7 separate regions of the Homo sapiens genome follow, and all the other regions are linked to region 2. The links are contacts of gene promoters, found by promoter capture Hi-C in blood cells and fetal thymus (Javierre and others, 2016). All regions are on one chromosome and are shown on one strand. Each heading gives the region's core, a stretch centred on a gene start or on the middle of the fragment in contact. The rest is flanking DNA. Distances are from core to core; before and after follow the strand shown.

Region 1 (3,041 bases), core at 156-2,655, 360 kb before region 2:
ATAGTAAGATTTTGACCAGTAGAAATGTCCACCGGACAGTTGGAATGGAAACCCCTAGAAGATATTTGAGCCTAACATCAATGTGGAGTCACATGCACGGAGGGAGTGGGGGGTAAAAAGGAAATCTGCCCAGCAGTGAAGACGTGGGAGTCGATGACACCATCGGGAGACAGATTACTGTATAGAAAAGAGGGAATGGGACAAAACCACAGCAAAGTCCTATGTTTAAGGCATGAGCAGAAGAAAAAGAGTCAGCACAGAAAAAAGAAATAGTAACCAGTTAGGAAGAAAACCAGGAAAGGCTTATGCCCTAGCAGCCAAGGGATGCAAGAATTTCAAGAAAGGGTTTGAAGTAACACTTACTGTTTCTTTATGAACATTACTCATCTACTTGCTCCTGGCAGACTGCAAGCTCCTTTAAAGCAGGAGCTGTTTCCTACCCATATCTGCATCCTGCACAATATCTAAAGCAGACTCCTACTATATGCCTTTGTTTGAAAAAAATGAACAACAATGTCAAACATGCAGAAAAGTCAAGGAAGGTGGGTGCTGAGAAAAGAGAAATGAACTGATGGCTAAGTAATCACTGGCAACCTCCAGGAAAGCGCATTTTCAATGACGGGTATGGGATCTGGAAAGTAAGAGCCAGGAGAGAAGGAACAAAGATGTAGGGAAGAGAAGGCACAACCATGAAAAAGGCACTGAAGCAGCAAGCAGGGGGTTCATCCTGCAAAGTCAGCCAGTCAGTCCCCCAAAGCACCTTCTAGGCACTGGGGACACATGGCCACCAGTCCCTGCCTGCAAGAAAACTGTGTTCTAGGAAAGAGACAGTGATGAAGTAGACCCACTGACAAATGCTATTCAGTTAAAATATGACAATATGAAGTGTGGTCAGGAAAGGCCTCTCTGAGAGGGTCATGTCTGAGTTTAGACCAGAATGACGAAGAGACAGTGATTGAAGCTCTGGGGCAAAACTGCTCCAGACACAGAACAGCAAATATAAAAGCACTGTGATGGAGCAAGCTTGGGTGTTTAAAGTACAGAAAAAAAAGATCACTGTGACTGATCACAATGAATGAGGGGGCAGGGGCCCTGGATTCTGGTTGAAATGGGAAGCACATCAACGAGAAAACGATAGAGCCTACTTTCTTTGTAGAAATTTCAGTCTGACTGCTGTGGGAAAGACAGATTATATGGGGCCAATTTGGAAGCAAGGACACCAGCATGGGGGAAGTTTCTGTAGACCAAGCAAAAGCTGATGAACACCGGCCTTGGTTGACAGTGGTGGTGACTCTCAGGAGTAGTCAGATTCAGGACTTAACTTGTGTATGAATGAAAAGACAAACTGACTTTTTGAATGTGGGGAATGAAGAAGAGAGCAATCAAGAATGATCTAGGCTTCTGGCTTGAGCATCTGGCATACAGGGTGATGCCACTTACTGAGACAGCAAAGTAATTAGAGGGAAGCAAATCTGTACCAAGGAAAGCAAGAGTTGTCTTCTGGTCATTTTAAATGTGAGGTCCCTATCAGACACCAAGTGGAAGTGCAGTGGAGTAGGCAGCTGGATGTTTAAGTCTGGAGCTCAGTGGGGAGGTCCAAGCTGGAGATACTCACTAGAGAGTCATCAGCACACACAGAGTATTTAAAGCCACAGGTTGCCTGGGGTCACTTGGGGAAAGAATACACATAGAGAGGAAAAAGAGCCAAAGATAGAGCCCTTACTTTTTTTCAGGTTAGACAGAGAAAAGGAGTAAAAATATTAAAAAGTTTTGAGGCAAAAGCTTGAGGTTTCTTTGGTCTCTATTGTCTCAGTAAAATAGTAGAAAGGAGTTCAGATGCTAAAGATCCTGACAAAGGTTTAGAATAAGCATCAGAAGAAATATAATAGGAAACCATCACAAAAGGAACACAAAGGAGAGCTGAGCTGCGGTAAAGATGCCAGGACTTTGCTGGAATCTCAGATGGGCAGACTTTGAGATTTTCCCCAGCAAGATAATAAAGTTCAGGCTTACAAACTACGATTGGTGTGAATTACTGAAATGTAATACAATGTGAGGTCTGGCAAAGAAATATGACAGAGGGTCCCAGGTTGTTAACAAGCTCACTGCTGAAATGCTGACCACCAGAGTCTACCCTGGATTCAGAGCCAAGTAAAGTGAGAATGGCCTGATGGACTGAAAAGGAAGAATGTTCAAAATCAGGGAATCACAATTAGGATGAAGAATAGGTTCAACAGATAGGAGGGAATCTGAAAGGAGTAAAGCAAGGAGGTTGTGGTCACAGAGGGAAATATCAGAATTGACAATCAAAAAGGTGAAAGAATACTAAGTGATGACAAGGCCCAGGTGTGGCCATTAAATCTCACAAAGTCTGTTATTTTTTCCAGGGGCTAAAATTATCATAGCAGGCACTCTCTGAGTCCTCGTTAGCCTGTGCCTGGCTACAGAAACACGAGGAAGGGGCAGTGTGACCAACAGGCCACAGGGGGTAAGAAGGGTGGTCCAGAGACTTAAATCTTGTTTCTAATTGACATTTACATGGCAGTTCTGGCTCTAATGTTATCTATCCTGCCATTTATATCTGGAAATCTTCTTTCAGCCTTCATACGCATGTTCTCCAAATCAAACAAGATTAGAAAGGAGGCGACAAAGACTTTGCATTTCATCAGTACTGACAGGCTCTTCAAAGTCAATGCAACTTTTCTTAGTTTTTGCTGCCAAGACAACCATTACCTCCTGCATCACACCTGTAATCCCAGCACTTTGGAAGGCTGAAGTGGGAAGATGGCTTGAAGCCAATAGTGCAAGACCAGCCTGGGCAACATAGATCTCGTCTCTATAAAAAAAAAAAAAATTTAATTAGCTGGGCATGGTGGCATGTGCCTATGGTCCTAGCTATTTGGGAGGCTGAGGCAGGAAGATGGCTTGAGCCTGGGAAGCAAAGGTTGCAGTGAGTCATGATTGCACCACTGCACTCCAGCCTGGGCAACAGGGAACAGGTCGAGACCCTGTATCAAAAAAAAAAAAAAAAAAAGGTAAGC
Region 2 (3,193 bases), core at 300-2,799:
TCCTCATTTGCAAAAACAACAGCAGCAGTAAGACTAAGTTAATCCAAGCAATGCACTTCACACAGGGCCTGCTCAATAGATGTTTGCTGTCATATCACTTCCCAGCTCAAAAACTTTCTGTGGCTCCCCAGTGTCTGAAGGTCTAACCCCATCCTGCCTTTCTAAGTTGGCCTGAGTTCCTACCAGCCCAGGGCAGAGAACACTTGATTTCCTCATATTTTATGTTACACACTGCCCCTGCCTTGTGTTCCCAGTATCTACAGATGGTAGGGAATATCTCGAGATAGCAGGTTTGTGGTAGAGGGCATTGGTCCCAGAAGTTTCACTGATAGAGATACCTTTTAAGATTTTATGGCTAACTTAAGAAATAATTCATGTCTCTTTGCAATATGGTTCAAGTGTCTTGAGTGACTTCGAGTCCCCACCTGGGGATAATGGAGGTGAAGCAGCAAGAAAGCACATTCCCACTCAGTTTCACAACCTGCACCATGTATGTGTTGGTGGTTATTTGGGCAGCAGGGAGTCCTGTTCATGGAAATGGATTCCTGCTCACATAATAACTAAGAGTTCTGTGAACTCCCTCAGCTGGGCAGGGGCAACTCTGGTGCTTCTGTCTGCAAGAAAGGGGACAGACAGGGAGGCTGATGTGAGGAGCTGGTTCTGGGAATAGGGTCATTTGTTCTGGGATATAGGGATGTGAGGGGAGGGCCAGCTCAATCCAGACTGATGAAGAGCGGGGAGAGTGATGAGTGCCTGCCTCAGCTTGGGCTGGATGGATGTGGGGAGGCTGGGCAGTGAGGGAGATGTGGATCTGACATCTCAGCCTGAGGGAAAGTCCCGGTTGAGATGGGGGAAGACAGAAAAAGAGGAATCTGAGAAGGGAGAAACCAAAGGCTGGAAATCCCAGCTCCGGGGATAAGGGAGTATGGGGACGGGGGAGGCCTGCCTCAGGTAACCCTACGCCTAACAGTTGTCTAAAATGCTCCCTTTCCTTGTCATGTTTGAGGAAAAGTGGTTCAAAGAGGCCGTCTGATGCGGGATCACACAGCGCTGAAGGGATGAGGGGCCCCGGGTGCTCCCGCCCGTCCTGCTGCCTCCTCCGGTGGCTCTCTGGGAGCCACAGCCCCGTCTAGCCACGGAGGGGCCTACAGCACGCCCCAAACGCTAAGGGGAAGCGCGGGAGGTGCGGTAGGAAGGCAGAGAAACCTGGTTTTTAAAACCAAGCCATTTTCAAGGAAAGAATTTCTTACTTTAAAACCTTGGTTTTTAAAACCAAGCCATTTTCAAGGAAAGAATTTCTTACTTAAAAATAGCGTATGGAATGGCGGCGGAATGACGGGAGGGACCGAGCTGGGGGACTGGACGGCGCCCCGGGGACACAGGAAGGAGGCGCGCAGAGCCGAGGCCAGAGGCGCGCCCGGGGAGTGGAAGCGCGAAGACAAACGCGGCGCCGCGGAGGGTGGGGGAGGAAGGGCCGGGGCGGGCCGCCGGCTGCCAGCCCAGGGCGGGGCGGAGCCCTACTTCTGGCCGACCGCGTAGGCGGTGCTTGAACTTAGGGCTGCTTGTGGCTGGGCACTCGCGCAGAGGCCGGCCCGACGAGCCATGGTTGCTGGGAGCGACGCGGGGCGGGCCCTGGGGGTCCTCAGCGTGGTCTGCCTGCTGCACTGCTTTGGTGAGTGAAGCCTGCCCCAGGGGCCCCGCGCCGGCCGGCGGGTACTGGGCAGCACCCAGGCTGGGTGGACGCGCCGGGCTCGAGGCGGTTGCCGATCAGAGACGGGTGGGGACGGGTCGCTGTGGGCCGGGAACAACTCAGCCGTGGGAGCCTTTTCAGGAAGAGAAAGTTGTTATTTCATCGCCAGTGTCCCTCATGGAGTCAGCAAGGAACTGTGTGGCCTTAGGGAAGGACGGGCTCCGGCCCGCTAGCCTCTCCTGCGGGGCCTGCGCCCCCCCGCCGGCCCCCTCCCGAGCTCCAGTGACCAAGTTCCTTCCTGGGCTTCCCCAGTAACGTCGCTGAGCGCTTCAGCGGACTGCAAAATTTTTCCCAGCCGTGAACGCGCCCGGGACGGGGAGCGGGCGCGGATGCCACCTGCTCGAGGGCGACGCCTGCTGCCCTCCCCGCGCGGTGCCGTCCCCGCCCGCGCGGCGTCCGCCGTATCAGCAGAGAGGACTTTTCAGAATCGCCCCACAGCGAGGAGCGGGTAGGCAACTAGGAAGCCCAGTCGGCAGCGGCCTCACGTTGGGATTCCTAAGTGGTGCGACTCCTGCTCCTTTTTCCTCCCCTCAAATCCTAAAAACTAGTATCAGAACTGGTTCCATCCTCTCCGTGTGTTGTCAGCCAAGTCGTCACAACAACCTCAGGAAATAGGTCCCCTTCTTCCCATTTTGCCTCCCCATCCTCCTTCACCCTCCACACATTGGCCCCAGTCAGGCCATAGCAAAACCCCGGGAGTACAGCAGTAACCTCCCAGCGAGTTCAACTGTACTTGAGGGGTTCTCATGGCTGGCTCCTGCACCCCACTGCCAGCCCTCCAGCCCGTCCGTCCGTTTGCTCAGCGTCCGCTGCCTGCCCGGGAGGTGCGCGTGTGCATCTATGGAAGACAGCCAAGGGGGAGGGGTTGAGATAGACTCAAAAGTACCCGCACGATCAGATAAGTCAGTGTTGTAAGAGGCCTGGGCTGGGCGTGGTGGCTTACACCTGTCATCCTAGCACTTTGGGAGGCTGAGGCAGGTGGATCACTTGAGGCCAGGAATCGGAGACCAGCAGGGCCAACACGGTGAAAGATCGGCTCTACAAAAAATACAAAAATTAGCTGAGCGTGGTGGCGCATACCTATAGTCCCAGCTACTCGGAAGGCTGAGGTGGGAGAATCACCTGAGTCCCGGAGGCAGAGGATGCAGTGAGCTGTGATTGTGCCACTGAACTCCAGCCTGGGTGACAGAATATGACCTGTCTCAAAAAAAAAAAAAAAAAAAAAAGGTGAGCTGTGAGGGTACAGAGGGAAGAAGAAGGCAGTCTCTTTTGTGAAATCAAGTGTCTTTTGTGAAGCAGTCTTCATGGGAGGGAGGATATTTGAGCCCAGCCTTCAAGGACTGGTGATGTGTGGACATGTGATAATGTGGGAAAAGATTGCTGAGTGTCCCCTTAGGGAGTCTGGATTCTCTGAGCTGAGAGAGCTTCTCCTGGGCCTTACAG
Region 3 (3,115 bases), core at 130-2,629, 330 kb before region 2:
CTCATAAAGTTGCTTTTACTGAATTGCATTTTGTCATGATACCATCAGCCTATATTGAGGGATGTCCTAAGAAACAGCTTTGTGCACTTTGTCATTTTGTTTCCCAGAAGGACAGGTTTACAGATGCTCTTCGTTAAATCAGGCAGCAGCCTCTGCTTAGGATGCATGGAGGAATTTTACTCTCATCTCAGAACCACAAATAGTTGTGCTTTTCCTTAGTGACTAGTTTCTTTTTTCGTATGGAATCTGTAAATATTGTAACTGATAGTATTTTCCTTTTCATGGTAGTGATTGGGAAGGTTATGTTCAATTCTATGACCTCCCTCTAGCAAATGAATAAAACTTTTTTTTTTTTTTGAGACAGAGTCTTGTACTGTCACCCAAGTTGGACTGGAGTGCAGTAGTACGATCACAGCTCACTGCAGCCTCAACCTCCTGGGCTCAAGTGATCTTCCCACCTTAGCCTCCCAAGTAGCTAAGACTACAGACATGCACCACCATGCTCAGTTAATTTTTAAAAAAATTTTTTTGTAGAGACAGGGTCTCCCTGTATTGCCCAGGCTGGTCTTGAACTTGGGCTTCAAGCAATTCTCCTGCCTCAGCCTCCCAAAGTGTTGTGATTACAGGCATGAGCCACAGTGCCAAGCCTTGAAGAGGACTTATAGCATGAGTTTTGCATAACCTCTAGCATAACCTTCTAGCTCCTAGTTTTGCATAACTCTAGTTTTGCATAACCTTCTAACTCCTCCTTACCTTGCCATCATTATTTTCCCTTTCCCTCATTTACTGTTTTTTCATTTTCATTTCTTTTATTATGTTCATGCAGTTGCACAATGCAGCAACTCCTTCTTACTGTAAAATTCTAGTCCACTCCTCCTGCCCTTCAACAGACATTTTAAATTCTAACTCCTCATTTGCCGATTAAATGCAATGAGGTAATAATCACAATGAGCTCTGCTTCCAGGGAAAGACTGGAATGTGATGAGGCTGTGTCAGCCGCCCTAGAACTCAAGGCGGAGTGTGATGAGAAAGGGCACTGCCATCCACTAGAGTCACAGGAGCTCCTGAAAGGATGTTGTTTCCAAGAGCAGCAGATAGTTGACTCTCCTAACCCTAGAAAACTGCACTGCTCATCTGTCTGCACTGAGTTAGCAAATATTAGGGTTCATTTGCTTTCTCTAAGCACACAGTGGTTGAAGGCTGGAGTGGCCTGCGTGTCCAGGGCAGATGAATGGGAGTGTGCCCGATTCTATGCAGTCAACAGCTCAGGTGGTATGGTCCAGCCGGCACCAAGCCGCTTATGGCTCCTGTGTACTCTGCCATCTCCTGCTGTCCCCTCCCTCAGAAATGCGTTTCACATGTCACATGGCTACTCCTGTAGGTTGGGTTCCCTTGAAAGCAAAGCGTGAGACACTGATTTGGCTGTGAGTTCTTTATCTGGGAAGTTATCTCAAAAAGCAGTGTTGAGGGAATGGGAGAGCAAGTCAGGGAACAAGAGAAAGTCAATAAATATGTGTTATTGAGGTAAGCACAGCTGTGAACAAACTGTGTAGAATGTGCCTTTGAACTGTCCCTCAGGGGACAAGAGGCTCAGGTATTTACTCCCTGATTCTCCTGCCTCAACAGCTGAGCTTGGCCCCTACGGCATTCACTCCTCCTTGTCTCCCGTCTGTACCTGTCTGAGTCTAGAGCCCTGAAGCAAACAAGTGGAGAGACAGATATGTGTGAGGCGGGCCACTCCAGCATACTCTGAACTGTCCACATGGCTGCATGGAAACCCCAGGAGGGGCCGAGGGATACAGCTACTCATTACTCCCCCAAGAGTTCTCCCTGTTTCCCTAGCTGCTGTCTCCACCGTGTCCATGTCACCAGTTCTGCATCTGATGCTTGTTTCAGGGTTGTGTATCTGTCCTAGTTTATGTGTCTGTTTCCTCTACTAGAATGAAAGTAGAGGCTGTGTTCCCCTCAGCTTTGTTTCCCAGGCACCTAGCACAACGTTCGAAACATAGTAGGTCTGCTTAATAAATGCTTCAGCTATACTTAGAATACTTCTGCTTTGATCTCTTTTATATATTGGAGTGCCACATAAAATTTTGTTTGAGGAAAAAGTCATCCAAAACCACTGATCTAACCCAACCCCCTCATTTTACAGATGAAGCATCTGAGGCTCAGAGAACCTAAGTAACTTCTCCAATATCACACAGTATATTAAAGTGATTATGGAATATTAAAATGACTTCACAAAGTACATCAAATGCAGACAAGGGAGCCGACTGGAGTTACAATGTGAATTATTAGCACTTCAAATGGAGGTTTGTGCTAGATTTTCACCAGGAAATTGCTTAAAATAAAATAGCTTGGAAAGCTCCTGAGCTCTGATTAAAGAAGTGAATGGCTTGAGTGAGGCTTTCTTTTCTAGGGGAAGATATTCACCCACTGTAAACACATTTTCAGGTAATGTACCAAGAACTTTGAATCAGAATGAACTCATTTTGCATTCTCTTCCTCCAACCTGTTCATCTAACATGGCAGCTATAGGGATAGTAGCATTTTCATTTGTAATTTAAAAATGAAGTCTGGCATGTACTACCATCTCAATAAATTGTGTTAGGTTGATTGCCATTATTTTTAATTGCAAAAACCACACTTACTTTTGCACTGACCTAACAAAAGTCCTCTCCCAGACCTGCCCCTTTCCTGTGCTGCCTTCCTGCCCCTAGCCCATCCTTGTGCTGCAGCGTTTGGCACATGTGTGGCATACAGAATGCCAGGGACAGCCAAAGCTTATGATGAAAACCGAGAAAAACAGAAGCGTACCACTTCTCACTGTGTGCTAGTATTAAAAAAAAAGGTGAAATTTTTGATATTGGGGTGGGGGGTGGTGTCCTGTGAGTCGTGGGAACTAGTCATTCCTTCCCAGTGAGAAAGTTAGGATTTATTTGAACAGACATACTCATACGAAACCTTTCTTATTTGCCCAGACATGGGTCAACATTGCTCCAGAAAAGAGTGGCTGGTGTAACGTTTCCATGATCCTTGATGCCATGATGAAAAAGCACTTGGTGAGTGTGAGGCAGACACCTGTTCCTCATCTGTGTGGCCCATTCTCAAAGTG
Region 4 (3,344 bases), core at 228-2,727, 470 kb before region 2:
GTAATTTGGTGTGGCTGGAGCACAAGGTACCCAGAAAGGGACTAGGGTGAGATAAGTCCACCAAGAATCCTATTGTTGAAAAGCCAGTTTAAAATGGAAGCACACACCCTCTCGGTTCCCTTGACAATGTGACCTTATAGGAGTAATAAATTTGGATTTTCCTATGCTGGTTATTTATACCATAGAAACTTCTTAATCACTGTCCTCATCCAATATAGTCTCTCGTCTCGGTAAATGGCTTAATGTGATAATTATGCTTCAACTCAAAACATCTCTATTTGGCAGTCAGAGCTGGTTCAGAAGGAGCCTTGGATTAAGAGACAATATGGTAGAAACTCCAAATTTCTAACAAGTAAATTAAATGTAAAGGTGAATAAATTTTTTAAAAAATGGAAAGCCAGTTAATATAATGAATGGATGGAACTGTCTCTTATCTCTAAACTTATCAGTAGAAAACTAGGTTAACGAGCATTTATTAGACACAAGAAGAGTCTCATCATGTGTCATTGTGTTTAATATACAGGAGCTACCTCTATGAGCTTGATACTTGAAACTTTCTGATAATTTTTTTCTATACTCAAAATGCTCACAAAATTGGTGTGATAGCCATTACACAAATTAAGAGAGTGAAGATGGTTTTCCAGCTGGCTTCCCTGCCTCACCTTTGTACCACTGCCATCCTCACTCCAACCCCACCTATCATCTATGCTGTTGCTTTTCAATTCTCCTTCCCTACTACATTACATTCACTGGCTCACTATTGTCCACCACATGAAGTCCAAGATATTATCCATGTTCAAGATCTGTTCTTCTGTCCTTCCCCAACCCCAGAATTTTGCTCTAACTACTTTTCCAGATTTATCTCCCATTGCTCCCCTTCATAGATCTGACACTTAACCCAAAGCTATTGTAAGCACTGCACTTTTCATGGGGCTTCCTCTGTCCAGACCTCTGCTTAACCCTTTTCCTGTCAAAATATTTTCTTATTTTTAAAGCCCAGTTCAACTTACATCTTCTTTATGAAGTTGTCTCTGATTTCTAAATGCCTGTAGCACTTTATTAGGAGTAAAAATTAATAGCCAGTTTGACAGAATTCCCACCTGAGCCTACAGGGAATGCAGACTTCTCAGGCTCTGTCTGCCAAGTGGTAGAGCTCCCCAACAGCACAATTGCATAACCTTCCTGCTGGAGGAAAAGAGGACCTGTGATGAGGAGGTTAGTGCAGAGGCTGCTGGGAACAGGCAATGGGAAATGGAGAGAATAGCATGAAGTCTTTCCCAGCCTGGCCGCAGACTTGCTGGTGTCTGGACTCTGGAGAAAGGAGATACTGGGCAAATGCTAATGGAACAGTTTTCACAAGAGAATCTTTAGAGACACGGGTGCAAACAATCTTGAATTTGTATCCTTACAGAAGAGTGTAATGTAAAGACAGAGAAAGAGTCCCTTTTCACTGCTTATCACTGAACACGACTCAGCTTGGCATCTCATGTGCTCTGGCATGCCAGCTGCGGTGGGAGCCCGCAGAGCCCAACGGAGCTGCAGGGAACCACATGGGAATGGACTTGCTTGTGAGCTCATGTGAATTCACAGAATCCGGGCCAGATGTGGTGGTGTGTACTTGTAGACCCAGCTACTTGGGAGGCTCTTGCAGGAGGATTACTTGAGCTCAGGAGCTCAATGCCAGCTTGAGCAATCTAGTGAGACCTCATCTCTTTAAAAAAAAATTTCCAGTTTTGGGAAATCCCCCAGAAATAGCTAAAGGACACTGTAGATGGCCAAGACCCTGTGTAAATATTCTGGGAGGGAAAGCCTGTAGAATTTGGATTATTACTATTGATTACATTTTATTTATGTACACGGACAGGTTAAGTCCTAGAAAAACTTGGGTTAATGCTGACATTCATTTATGACTTGATGTGGTTTTAAAACTTATCTCCATTGATGTATCTGATTTGATCACCATAACAACCACTCAAAGTGGCTATTATTATATCCAGATTTTCCCCCATAGCAATGGATTTGAGCATATTTTTTGTGTTTATTGTGGAAAGAGTGTTTATTGTGGAAAGAGTCCAGGACTTGTCAGCAGACCTAAGTTTGAGCTTTTACTCTTCTGCATATGGCTGGGTGATCCTGGATAAATCCCAACCTCTCTGAGCTATAATTCCTTACCTGTAGGACAGGAATAACAATTCCTTTTGTATAGAGATGCTGTAAAATTCTGAGATAATGAAAAAAATCCTGTACGATTGTAAGAAATTATTATGGCACATGACTTTATACCATTGCATTCATCTTCTGCCATAAATCGGTTTTTTCTATACATCTCAATACAATAAAAATAATTAACAGCAACCATGCCTTAATCATCCCTGTGTCATCTTATCTTGCACAGAGTAGGTACTCAGTATGATGGCGTGAAACGTTGCAGGGTGATAAACTTCCCATCTATAGTGTGAGGCCGGTACAGCGGAGTCAAACTTCAGAATGGCTGGGACTAGATGCCAATCCTGAAAACCTAAGATTATTTATTAGATTAATCAGATATAGAAGAGATTCAGATATAAGAGGTCAAATCAGTTTCCCAGGGACATAATACATGGCTAAGAGAGACAGAACATTAAAGGACAGCAGGGCTGGCAAATGTTTTCTGTAAAGGGCCAGAATAATAAACATTTTAGGCAATGTAGGTCCTATGGTCTCTGTGGCAACTACACAACTTTGCCATTTTTATCGTGAAAGCAGCCACAGACAGTATGTAAGCGAATGGGAGTGACCATATTCCAGTATATTGTATTTTAAAAAACAAACAGATGGTGGGCTGCATTTGGCCCATAGGCCCTGGTTGGTCAACTCCTGAGACAGAGGCTTGTCCTTTTGCCAAGGAAGATTTATAACACAAAAAGCCAAAAGTAAAACCAGGTGGTGGCATGAAATGGAAAAGCTGAAATCAATAAGTAAAAGTAAAGCTCTCCACTAAGTTTCAAAAACCAAAGGTAAACAGTATGTAATTGGAGAGAGAAGAGGTTTCACATAAAATGTCTGCTGAACTGGATCAGGGCAAATTTTATTCTGTAAATTTAAAAAGAAGAAAATACTGTGGGGGTGTTTTAGTTTTGGAGGATTTTAGTTGCCTATGGGACAAAGAGTGCCATGTGGCTGCTTAGACTATCAAAGGTGCTCTAAGTCCCATTAATGAAAGCAGAGCATCCAGGACAAACAAGGTGAGCATCCCAGGGGCATGGGGCTGTGTCTGAGTCACCACAGGGCCCCTTGCTCCTAGCACAGGGCCTGACATGCAGCAGGTACCCACTGGGAACTCACACTTCCCATGCTGTGCTCTG
Region 5 (3,328 bases), core at 291-2,790, 440 kb after region 2:
GGAGGAAATTTTACCCTGGGCAGGGGTGTTGTGGACTCCCATATGGTGCTAGTTTACATATTTCCATAATACGTAGTAATTTGTTGGATGGCAAATATAGATACTAGAACCTCATCCTGAATTTTTCACACATGCTACCCCTTCTGAGTGGCTCTGGCCAGGCCCTACAGAGGCCACAGGAAGAATGACCTATCCAAAGCTGCCCCTGGGTCTTCTCCAACCTGCCCCACACTCACCTGCAGATGGTGGGACGTGATAACCGGCCTGTTCCCTGGGCACCAGATGTCCTCCTTCAGGTGCCTCATGACCTGAAAACACTTCCTACGGCAGCCCCCATCTTCATCCAGCTGTTCCAGTAACACCTGCTCAGCACGGAGGAAGCTCAGCTGCCAGTGATAATTTGAACAGGCCAACAAGTTAAATCCAAACGACTGGAAGAAAGAGAAAAATATTGGGAAATAAGAAGAACAATGCTCACTGGTGTAGAAAGCCATTTCTGAAGCAGTCTGCTGGTCTGGGGAACTTGTCACCAGGCAGACAGCACATCCTACGTGGGGATGAGAAGGGGGTGCCAGGGAGACCACAAGCCACCTTGGATGTGGACAGTTAGAAGATGGTGCCCACTTCCTCTCCTACAGCAGTTCTCCAACTTGAGCATACATCAGAATCACATCACCCAGAGGGCTTCTTAAAACACAGATTGCTGGGCCCTGTTCACAGGGTCTCATTCAGCAGGTCCAGAGTGGGGGCTCGGGAAGCTGCATTTCTAACAAGTTCTCAGGTGACGCTGCTGCAGGGCCCACACTTTGAGAACTGCTGATCTAGTAACACCTCAACTTTCCTTCGGAAACTCATTGGCAGTCAGTAATGCTGTGACTGGTTAAGCTGTTGGCATCACTGCTCTGGCAAGCTGGGTCCCGCCCACTGATACCTTGATGCACTCCACTCTCTCTTGGGAAGGCCAGCGCTGCAGACATCGAGGCCACCGGGCTTTCTTGGACCAGGTGGTGGGGATCTCCACTGCGGGGACCAGCTCCAGTTCCACCTGATATGCAGATGTTTCCACAGCAACCCAAACTGCAGAGCGGTTTCCTAGCAGGCTGACCTTACCTGGTGGGAAATGACCAAATGGATAAGGAGAAGAGAAAGGTTTGCACATTACAAGCGTTCAAACAAGAAATTTGTGAGCAGTTGCTCTGACCAGCACCTTGCAACTGGTGTGGCAACTTTCACAATGTCTGTAGCACGTGAAGGATCACAATGCCTGTAGCACGTCAAGGTTTTGACATCAAAACCAGATGGTTAGTCAGCTAGCCAGCATCGGAACATTACTAAGAAGTCTCATTGCTGGTGAGTTTTTCTTTCTCCCCCAACCCCAAGGCATTTGGGGTACCTTTTCTTTTAAATTAATAGATTCTTTTCAGGAGGATCAACTGAAAGTAAAAGCCATAGAATAAAAAGAAAAAGTGTAGTATAGATGCTCCTTGACTTACGATGAGGTCACATCCTGATGAAGCTGAAAATATTCTAAGTTGAAAATGTATTAATACACCGAACCTACCAAACATCATAGCTTAGCCTACCCTACCTTAAAAGTGCTCAGAACACTTACATTAACTTACAGTTGGGCAAAATCATCTAACACAAAGCCTATTTTATAATAAAGTGTTGAATATCTCATGGAATTCATTGAATGGTTGTATGGGTACTCGAAGTATGGGTTCTACTAAACATGTATCACTTTCGCACCCTTGTAAAGTAAAAAAATCATATGTTGAGCCATGGCAAGTTGGGGAACTTCTGTATTTGCTACTGTAAAAATGAAACCTAACTATTTTTCTATATCCTTCTCCATTCCACCCAAATATCTAAATGTTGGTTTTCAGAGTAATGCAAACATAGGGAAGGCTAATGCCATTTTTTTTCCCTCTTCACCTAGATATTCTGACACTGGTTAGGGACAGCATCAGCCTCCTTATTTATGCATATGCCTTTGGTGAAATTTGGCTTCACCTTTCTTTTATCTGAGCCTCAGTCTCTTAGATGGTATTTGTTTTTACCATCCATTCAGCCAGCCGAGCCTCAGAGGTATCTATCATCAGAAACCCCTGTAACCACAAAATACATCAAAGCACGTCACAGCCACTGTTTCAGAGGATTGAGTGATTTGAAAGAAGTCTCCATTGCCTCGTTTTCCAACCAGGCAAAGAGAAGAAGAGAAAACTAACGCATCTAGTAGTTTTCCAGCTCACATACTATAATTTCCTCATTTCCAATTTGCTCCTTCTTCTTTCAAAAGGTACAGTTTTTGTTTGTTTGCCTTCATTGCAGATAAAGATAAGCAGTCTTGAATAGATCAGGATCTATTCATCCTTATTTGCTCATCCCAATTCTTGAAATAGATTGGAATCTATTATTTTGCATTTCCTTGCACAGAGAAGAAAATGGAAGCACATTAATTGTGTTAGGCTGTTCAAAAGGGAAACATTCCCTGGCCAGGGTGGGATAAAGGGCTTGTCTGCATCTCATCAGAGCTGCCCAGACAGGAACATGACAACTGGCACTTTAGCATTATTTACTAAAAGCGCCTCATAAACCTTGCCCATTCTGAATCTCTGCTTTGCACTTTCACCATGAATAATGTCGCACAGCATAAGAGGTGAGCCGATGCTGCAGCCAGCCTGCCGGCCCACACCCTGCCGGCCCACACCCTGCCCTGCAGCTGGCTCTGCTTATGAGGTGTGTGAACTTCAGAAGTGACTTAATCTCTCTAAGTCTCAGTTTCCTCATCTCTAAAACAGGTAGGAAAAGAATTCTTACTGTATTGTGTGGTTATGAGGATTAAATTAAATAACCCATGAAACTTATTCTACTTAGTAAAAAAATCTATTAAACATAAACTATTACCATTATGGAAATTTTCAGAACTATTCTGTCTAGACAAACAAATGTATGTATGAATACATCCTTTTATTTTCACACAGATGGAATCTCATATTGTTTAGCAGTTTGGTTTTTCACTTAACTATTTAGCACATGCATTTTTCATAGCTCTGTATGTATGCATGGGCATATGCCTGTTCTTTTTAAAGGCTGCATAGTAGTCCAGTAGGCAGAGATAGCATAATTTAATTTAGCCAATTTTCCTTTGTTAGCCATTTAGATTACTTCTAGCTATTTACTATTATAAAACCTATGGCAGAGAATATCCTGGTGCACAATTCTTTGTGTATTTGTAGAAATATATTTCTAGAACTGGAATTGTTGAATTGTCAAGTAAGCACATTATAAAAATAAAATATAGACAACTTGCCCTTTAAAAAGGAGA
Region 6 (3,242 bases), core at 343-2,842, 440 kb before region 2:
TGTCCATCAACAGTAGGCTGGATAAACTGTGGTACAGTCATAAAGTGGAATGTTATATAGAAACAAAAATCAACAATTACAACTATTTGCAATAACATGAATGACTATGTTCAAAGCAAGATACAAAAACACTTCTGAATCCTTGTGACTATATACAGAATGATCGTACTGTTTATAAAGTTTAAAAACAGGTGAAACCACACTGTATTATTTAGTGATGCACACATAAAGGGCTGAAATCATTAGCAAAAAGGCAGGAAATGACCAGGCGAGGTGGCTCATGCCTGTAATCCTAGCTCTTTGGGAGGCCAAGGTGGGCAGATCACTTGAGGGCAGGAGTTTAAGACCAGCCTGGCCAACATGGTGAAACCCTGTCTCTACTAAAAATACAAAATTAGCCAGGCATGGTGGCAAGGTGCCTGTAATCCTAGCTATTCCAGAGGCTGAGGCAAGAAAATCGCTTGAACTCAGGAGGCAGAGGTTGCAGTGAGCCGAGATTGCGTCACTGTACTCCAGCCCGGGCAACTCCATCTCAAAAAGAAAAAAAAAAAAGCAAACTAGGAAGTGGTTATCATGAAAGTCAGGAAAGTGATTGCATGGTGTTTGTGATCTGATGGGGCACACTGCGGGCTGGGTGGGTGCTTCTAGGGTCTTGGCGATATTCTATTTCTTGACCTGGGTAGACATTATACAGATTTTACTTTGTGCTTATTTGTTAAACTGAAAATTTGTTTAACAAATTTTAAATTTATTTTAAAATTATTTTAAACAAATAATAAAAATTTTCTTATGTTGTATTTCACAATAAAAATATTTTCTTAATGTGGCTTTTGAGGTACCACTAACCCACATATATCAAGGCATGTTTCTACAAACAATGTTATTTTTGGTGGCTAGGCAACACTTCTCGAACGTTTCCCATCACTTTTCAGCAAGATGGGTACCACGTTTGAAAATTTTTATTGTGAAAACACGCACTTCTTTTTCTACTGCTTTATTTGCCAATTCAATAAATATTTATTCAACCACTTATAGTATTTCTCATGCTTGAGGGACTAAGATATGAAGATGAATTTAGGCTAGATTCTGACTTCTGGATTTCATAATCCAATCAAGTGGATAGTAGTCACCTCTCTATGGAAAACATATAATAAAAGTGCTTCAAAAATTTTGAAGAGGGACTACATTTTGAGGGGAGGGAAATAGGTTTATGGAGATGGCATAAGAGATGGCATTAGAAATGGATTTTGGAGAATTGGGAAGATTATGACAAGGTAAGTGGGGAGACAGAGCATTTTAGGTGAAGGAGATTTCATGGCAAGACTCTGAGTAGGAATCAAAAGACTTACTCAAAATTAAAGAGTAATCAACTGGATGGGGGAGGGCTGCATAAAGATTAATAGAAAGAGGTAAAACTGGACAGCAATTTTTGGGTCCAGAGCAGAAAGGACTTGACTATCACATTTAAAAGTTTGGACTTGATTCATTGGCAATGGGGAATCCACTGAAAGTGTTTAGGAGGTTTTAGGAAAATGAACCTCACAGTTTGTGTGCAGAATGATGGAAGTTAGAAATAGACAATCAGGTAATTGTAGGAGCTCAGGACAGAGGTGACAAAAGCAATAGGGATAAAAGTAAAGGTACTATAACTGAGCTACTGTGGAGACAAAATCTGTAGTTTTCAGTGCGTTGGATGCTTGGGAGTAGCAGGGTTAAATGGCGAGATGAGAGGTAGGAAGAAATCAAAGATCATAGGTTTGATAAGGCTGCCTGGGAGAATATTGATACTCTGACTAGAAATACAGATATTAGGAAGAGTTACTGTTGTGTGTATAAGGGTGAGTGAAAATATAATGCATTTAATTTTAGAAATACTAAATTTGAAGACCATGGAATAGACAGGAAGGATATCCAGCAAACATTTTGAAATATTTAAATATAGATATTTATATTTACATATAAATTATACATATTTTCAAAGGGTTAAATAGACTTTAACCCTTTGAAAATATTTGTAATCGAATCCTTTCAAAAACCCTGTGATATTCCCATATTTAGTTATGTAAAAACTCCTAGGATTTGAGCCAGACTTGAACATATTAATAGATCTGCAAATGCCAAATCCATGGCTGTCCCCATTGTTTCTTGTTGGCTCCTGTAAATGTCTGTTTGTAACTAGGGAGAGTTCTGAACTGTTAGATGTAGATTAGGTCAGTTACATACAAGTGTTGGGAAGTATTGGGGAACAGAAGGAAGAGGACTAAGGAGAGATTACTAGGGAATTTCTCTCTTTAGGGGATGGGATAAGGAACAAAACTTACAGAGGGAAGAGTTAGATGGAGGGCAACTAGGACACAGCGGCTGGAAATCAAGGGAAGAACATTCTAAGAGGAAAGGGCTTGTCAGCACTGCCAAAGGCTGCCAAGAGGTTGGGGACTCTGAAGGCAGAGGAGACTCCTGTTAGCTCGATGAGGAGGATGTCCATGAAGATCTTTGTAAAAGGGATTTCAATAGAGTGGAAGCAGCAGTTTTCAGGGTAAGAAGTGACTGCAGGAAGTGGAACCTACTTCCAGGAGTTTCATGGAGAAGGAAAAATGAAGATTAGGATGGCAGCTAGAAAGAGTAGCTAGGTGAGGAGCGGTAGGAAGGGGTGGGATGGAGAATGGGTGAAGCCAGCAAGGAGGATGAATGAAGTAATGTCCTAGTAGAGGGATGACAGGGAGGGTGCTGTGTTATAGTCTCAACGTCTGTGTCTTCCTAAAACTCACACGCAGAAACCTAATTTCCAAGGTGATGGTATTAGGAGATGGGGCATTTAGGAAGCAATTAGGTCATGAGGGCTGTGCTCTCATGAATGGGATTAATGCCCTTGTAAAAGAGTCCAGGAAGCTCGCTAGCCCCTTCTGCCACGTGAGGACACAGTTAGAAGGTGCTATGAGGAACAGGCCCTCACTGACACCAAACTGCCAGTGCCTTGATCTTAGACTTCCCAGCCTCCAAAACTAAATTTCTGTTGTTTATAAGCCCCCCTCCCCCACCCGCCCCAGTTTATGGTACTTTTGCTACAACACGCCAAACAGTCTAAGACATACTACTTTCTGAGAAAAGTGAAAGAAATAGTGTGGAGATTTCAAAGGTATTTTTCAGGTAGAAGGCATGACTGGCAGAGATCAACTCAAATGGCTATGCACTGGGGCCATAAGCTTAAGCATCTTACTATAAATATATTCTCTCTGGGTTTT
Region 7 (3,337 bases), core at 375-2,874, 380 kb before region 2:
AGATAACTCCGAGGAGGGGTTAAGCTGAAGAGGTTAAGAGTCATTCTCCAAACCACTCACCTAGCCAGGTCACACCCACACCAGCTGGGGAAGACACGGCCTCTGCCACTTTGTGCCAGCTCCTGTTGTGTCCGGGTGCCCACAGGGACACGTGGCAGTAATAGTAGCCAGAGTTTTCTTTGCTAACATCCCGAACCAGTAAATGGTAGGAGCGTGCATCCACATGACTCAAAGCAACATGAGGCGAGCTGTGCACCAGGGAATCACGGTCAAGCCGCGCCAACACGCGGGAGCCAGGTAGGGTGCTGTCAGGCATCCTGCTGAAGGACCACGTCACCTCGGGCCGGACGTCATCGGCTCGGTCTGTTGTGATGTTACAGGTCAGGTCCAGTTCCTTTCCTTCAGCCACAGACACATTCTTGGGCACAGCTGCTCGCAGAACTTGAAAATTAAAAACAAATACATCTAGGTAATCTGATTATGTTTGCCCCTTCTATTCTCCACCCTCTTTAAAGCATCTCCTTTTAAGTTCTTATTTACAGCATTAAAGTTAGAAGGCTTTGTACAGTTGTAAGTGCTTGAGAAATATTTAATGAATAAATTAACAGAACATACCACATTTCTTCTTATTTTATAAAAACAACAATAGCCGCAAACATTTACATATATCTGCTATATATGCCAGGCAGTGTTCTGAGTGCTTTACATATAATAATCCTCAAAACAACCCTAAGAGGCCTAATTTTACTGATGAGGAAATTGAAGCACAGAGAAGTTAAGTAACTTGCCCAAGGTCACACAGCTGATAGGTGGCAGAGATGGAATCCAAATCCAGGCTATCTGCCTTTAGAAACTCTGCTCTTCACTGTTATGCTATCTTTTGATAAGCAGTCTATTGAAGACTGTAAAACTAAAATTATACATTCTCCATGTGCATGATGAAACTTGGGTGATTTTACAGAAAAGGAAGACTTGCTTCTGACTGGTACATATTGTTAGCTGGGGGCTAGGCAATAAGGCAGCAGAAGTGAGGGTGAAACTGTCTAAGGGATAAAAGGGAAAAATCCTAAACAGAAGGGCCAGGAAAGTGAAACCAGACAATTTTCCTTGAGTCAAGTCTTCAAAATGTAATGTACTGAGAGTATAATTTATTTCTTAGACATTCCCACATAAAAGCCAATCATAAAACATATTCTAAAACTAAAACACGATGATTTTTGGATTATCTGCACTACTGTCCTTTCTCATTAGTGTGGATAATTAAAAGTAGACTATATTTAGATGAAGCACTGAAGTATTTGGTGTCACAGACTCAAGGCAGATCTAGTTCCAGCATTCCCCTGTCAAAGCTTTCACATGGAAACATTTTATTCTATTCAGAAGATTTTAAAAGAGCATCTGTAATCTGAGTAGAAAAACATCAACTTGTGAAATGTCCGGGAACAATTACTTAGATGACAAGTACCAAGCACTTCCCAGGGGATTCAAGCAGAGGCACAGCCCTGGCCTTCTAGCAAGTCGCTGGCATCAACGGCATGGCGCTGGCCCCAGTAAGCTCAGGGACCCAATTCAGAAAAGACCAACTCCAAAGCCCGTGCTCCTTGGCGTAAATTACTTTCATATGAATATGTCCAAAGCCTGACAATATTTCAAACAAATATTTCAAGTCAAGTTCAAGATCCAGCTAGACAGAAGACAGAAAATAAGGTGGGCACAGTATTAGAAAAGGCAATTTAAAAGTTCAATTTCTCCTTCCACCTAGTCTCCTAATTCTTTCTCTCGATCATCTCTTTAAAAGGGCCAAAAGTAGCCTGAGGGTATCATTTGTGAGGACTAAGTATGGAAACTGCTGCCCTGAGCCAGGCTCTGCAGTTTGAACCATTCTACAGTCAAAGCTTGTGGCCAGAAACCCTGGAATCCTGCTGGAGTCACCTCTGCCAGGACTTCAGCTACTGGAAGTAAAAGACGACTCAGGAGGGAGTCGGGTCAGTGACGAAGTACTTAACAAGCAGCTGTGGACTGTATGGATGGAGAAAACAGAGTCTCAGGTTCAGAAAATATTGGCAGGGATGTCTCTTCAGCTGTGTAGTTCACTTTGTAATTTTCTCTGTGCAAGTGGCTCAGTATCTTGTCACATCACTAACCAGAGGTCCCACACATTCTGGATTTGGGAGTTTACTGCTGAGAGACAGGATGGAGTAGGCTAAAGGGAAAAAAAGGACCAGTTCTAAGTATTTGTAATGAAAGAAGGGACCTCAGGCAAAGCCTGTGGTGGGGCAGGTTCTCTGTCCCTGAATATAACTAAATCCATAAATCAGACAAAGTTTGCAGCAACCAGACCACTCCCATGACAGGGAGGAGGGGCTGGGGAGGAGGCTCCCTGCCACATGGGTAGCACAGCTTCACTCTGCGCCATTTATCATAACAATGTGATAAGAATATATAAGCAGCCAGCTATGGATAGTGCAGGTGTGGACAAGAAGAGAAGGACCATCAGCCTAGTGTGACAGTTCTTAGCCTGGGATCCACAAAGAGAATTTAGAGTCTGTGAACTTGGATGGGAAAAAAACTCCATCTTTATTTTTATTAATCTGTACCTGAAATATAGCATCTCCTCCCACTGTGAAAGTAAGCAACAAACCAGTGTAGTATTACCTGTGTCTGGAACTACCCCAAATAGAAATCACATTACAGTTGCTGCAGATATCCTGAAATATCATGTATACTCATTACTATTCAGAAAGTACAGTTGTTAAGCCTGCCACTATCTTATTATCAATGCATTAATAAAGCAGCATATTACTACAAAATCAATTTGCTTTACAAGTATTTTGATAACGATTTCTATATAATTATTTTCCTTTGTCATCTTGTGTACTGTATTTTATGAATTAAAACATGTTAATTCTGAGAAAAGGTCTGTAGGTTTCAAAAGGCTGTCGAAAAGTCTCATGGCACAAAAAGATTATGAACCCTGTCTCATCTGAGAGCCAGATATTACCTGCCTAATAAGTTCAGTGTTCAAGTCTCTTAGCTAGATATTATAGGTCTCATGGTGTGTTTGAAACAAAAAATGTCTTTACAATTCAAATTCTTCCAAAAAAGCGTAAACTTTCTACACAGCTGAAACTCTTAAGAGTTGTTTGATGCAAGTTTAATATCTAGAGGTTTCTTAGGGCAGATTGCAGAGCGATCACTTCTGATCAGGAAGGTAACCTAAGTCCATCTGGAAAGCGATTTCTGCAGCCAGTGGAGCCCAGACTGACCAGTAATGAGCAGCTCCTCTCCTCAATGGCCATAGTCACTCAAGAACCTCAGACCTGCTTTTCCACCACCC

The links. The method cuts DNA at HindIII sites, captures the fragments that hold promoters and counts their contacts. A CHiCAGO score of 5 or more calls a contact.
Region 1: a contact is called between a fragment that was not itself captured here and the fragment with the promoter of CD58 in region 2, in 1 of 17 cell types (M0 macrophages). The highest score is 6.8, in M0 macrophages.
Region 3: a contact is called between a fragment that was not itself captured here and the fragment with the promoter of CD58 in region 2, in 1 of 17 cell types (M2 macrophages). The highest score is 6.5, in M2 macrophages.
Region 4: a contact is called between a fragment that was not itself captured here and the fragment with the promoter of CD58 in region 2, in 2 of 17 cell types (erythroblasts and M1 macrophages). The highest score is 5.6, in erythroblasts.
Region 5: a contact is called between a fragment that was not itself captured here and the fragment with the promoter of CD58 in region 2, in 6 of 17 cell types (neutrophils, naive CD8 T cells, total CD8 T cells and 3 more). The highest score is 10.0, in neutrophils.
Region 6: a contact is called between a fragment that was not itself captured here and the fragment with the promoter of CD58 in region 2, in 5 of 17 cell types (M2 macrophages, monocytes, M1 macrophages and 2 more). The highest score is 9.7, in M2 macrophages.
Region 7: a fragment that was not itself captured here is called in contact with the fragment with the promoter of CD58 in region 2 in 2 of 17 cell types (M1 macrophages and M0 macrophages); the score reaches 6.3 in M1 macrophages.

Annotation. Positions count from the first base shown.
Region 1 is chr1:116,927,519-116,930,559 of GRCh38, reverse strand. All of the region lies in intron 1 of PTGFRN (prostaglandin F2 receptor inhibitor), which reads right to left. Among named protein-coding and RNA genes, the nearest start is that of PTGFRN, 19 kb to the right of the region's middle. The HindIII fragment of the contact is 759 bases long and covers 1,026-1,784 here.
Region 2 is chr1:116,569,382-116,572,574 of GRCh38, reverse strand. It overlaps CD58 (CD58 molecule), which reads left to right and starts at 1,549. Exons shown (of 6, transcript NM_001779.3): 1 at 1,549-1,672. The coding sequence starts at 1,603. It overlaps LOC124904385 (a long non-coding RNA gene), which reads right to left and starts at 1,600. Exons shown (of 2, transcript XR_007066497.1): 1 at 1,522-1,600. RefSeq lists silencers at 1,348-1,807, 1,878-1,947 and an enhancer at 2,418-2,477. The HindIII fragment of the contact is 6,609 bases long and covers 1-3,193 here.
Region 3 is chr1:116,900,775-116,903,889 of GRCh38, reverse strand. No RefSeq gene overlaps it. Among named protein-coding and RNA genes, the nearest start is that of PTGFRN, 7.6 kb to the left of the region's middle. The HindIII fragment of the contact is 2,813 bases long and covers 1-2,785 here.
Region 4 is chr1:117,036,646-117,039,989 of GRCh38, reverse strand. All of the region lies in intron 2 of CD101-AS1 (CD101 antisense RNA 1), which reads left to right. Among named protein-coding and RNA genes, the nearest start is that of CD101-AS1, 21 kb to the left of the region's middle. The HindIII fragment of the contact is 4,956 bases long and covers 1-3,344 here.
Region 5 is chr1:116,125,248-116,128,575 of GRCh38, reverse strand. It overlaps MAB21L3 (mab-21 like 3), which reads right to left. Exons shown (of 8, transcript NM_152367.3): 6 at 932-1,110; 7 at 237-431. Among named protein-coding and RNA genes, the nearest start is that of MAB21L3, 16 kb to the right of the region's middle. The HindIII fragment of the contact is 7,397 bases long and covers 1-3,328 here.
Region 6 is chr1:117,004,668-117,007,909 of GRCh38, reverse strand. All of the region lies in intron 1 of CD101 (CD101 molecule), which reads right to left. Among named protein-coding and RNA genes, the nearest start is that of CD101, 4.5 kb to the right of the region's middle. The HindIII fragment of the contact is 3,226 bases long and covers 1-3,205 here.
Region 7 is chr1:116,946,296-116,949,632 of GRCh38, reverse strand. It overlaps PTGFRN (prostaglandin F2 receptor inhibitor), which reads right to left. Exons shown (of 9, transcript NM_020440.4): 4 at 61-441. Among named protein-coding and RNA genes, the nearest start is that of PTGFRN, 38 kb to the right of the region's middle. RefSeq lists a silencer at 2,200-2,400. The HindIII fragment of the contact is 546 bases long and covers 1,352-1,897 here.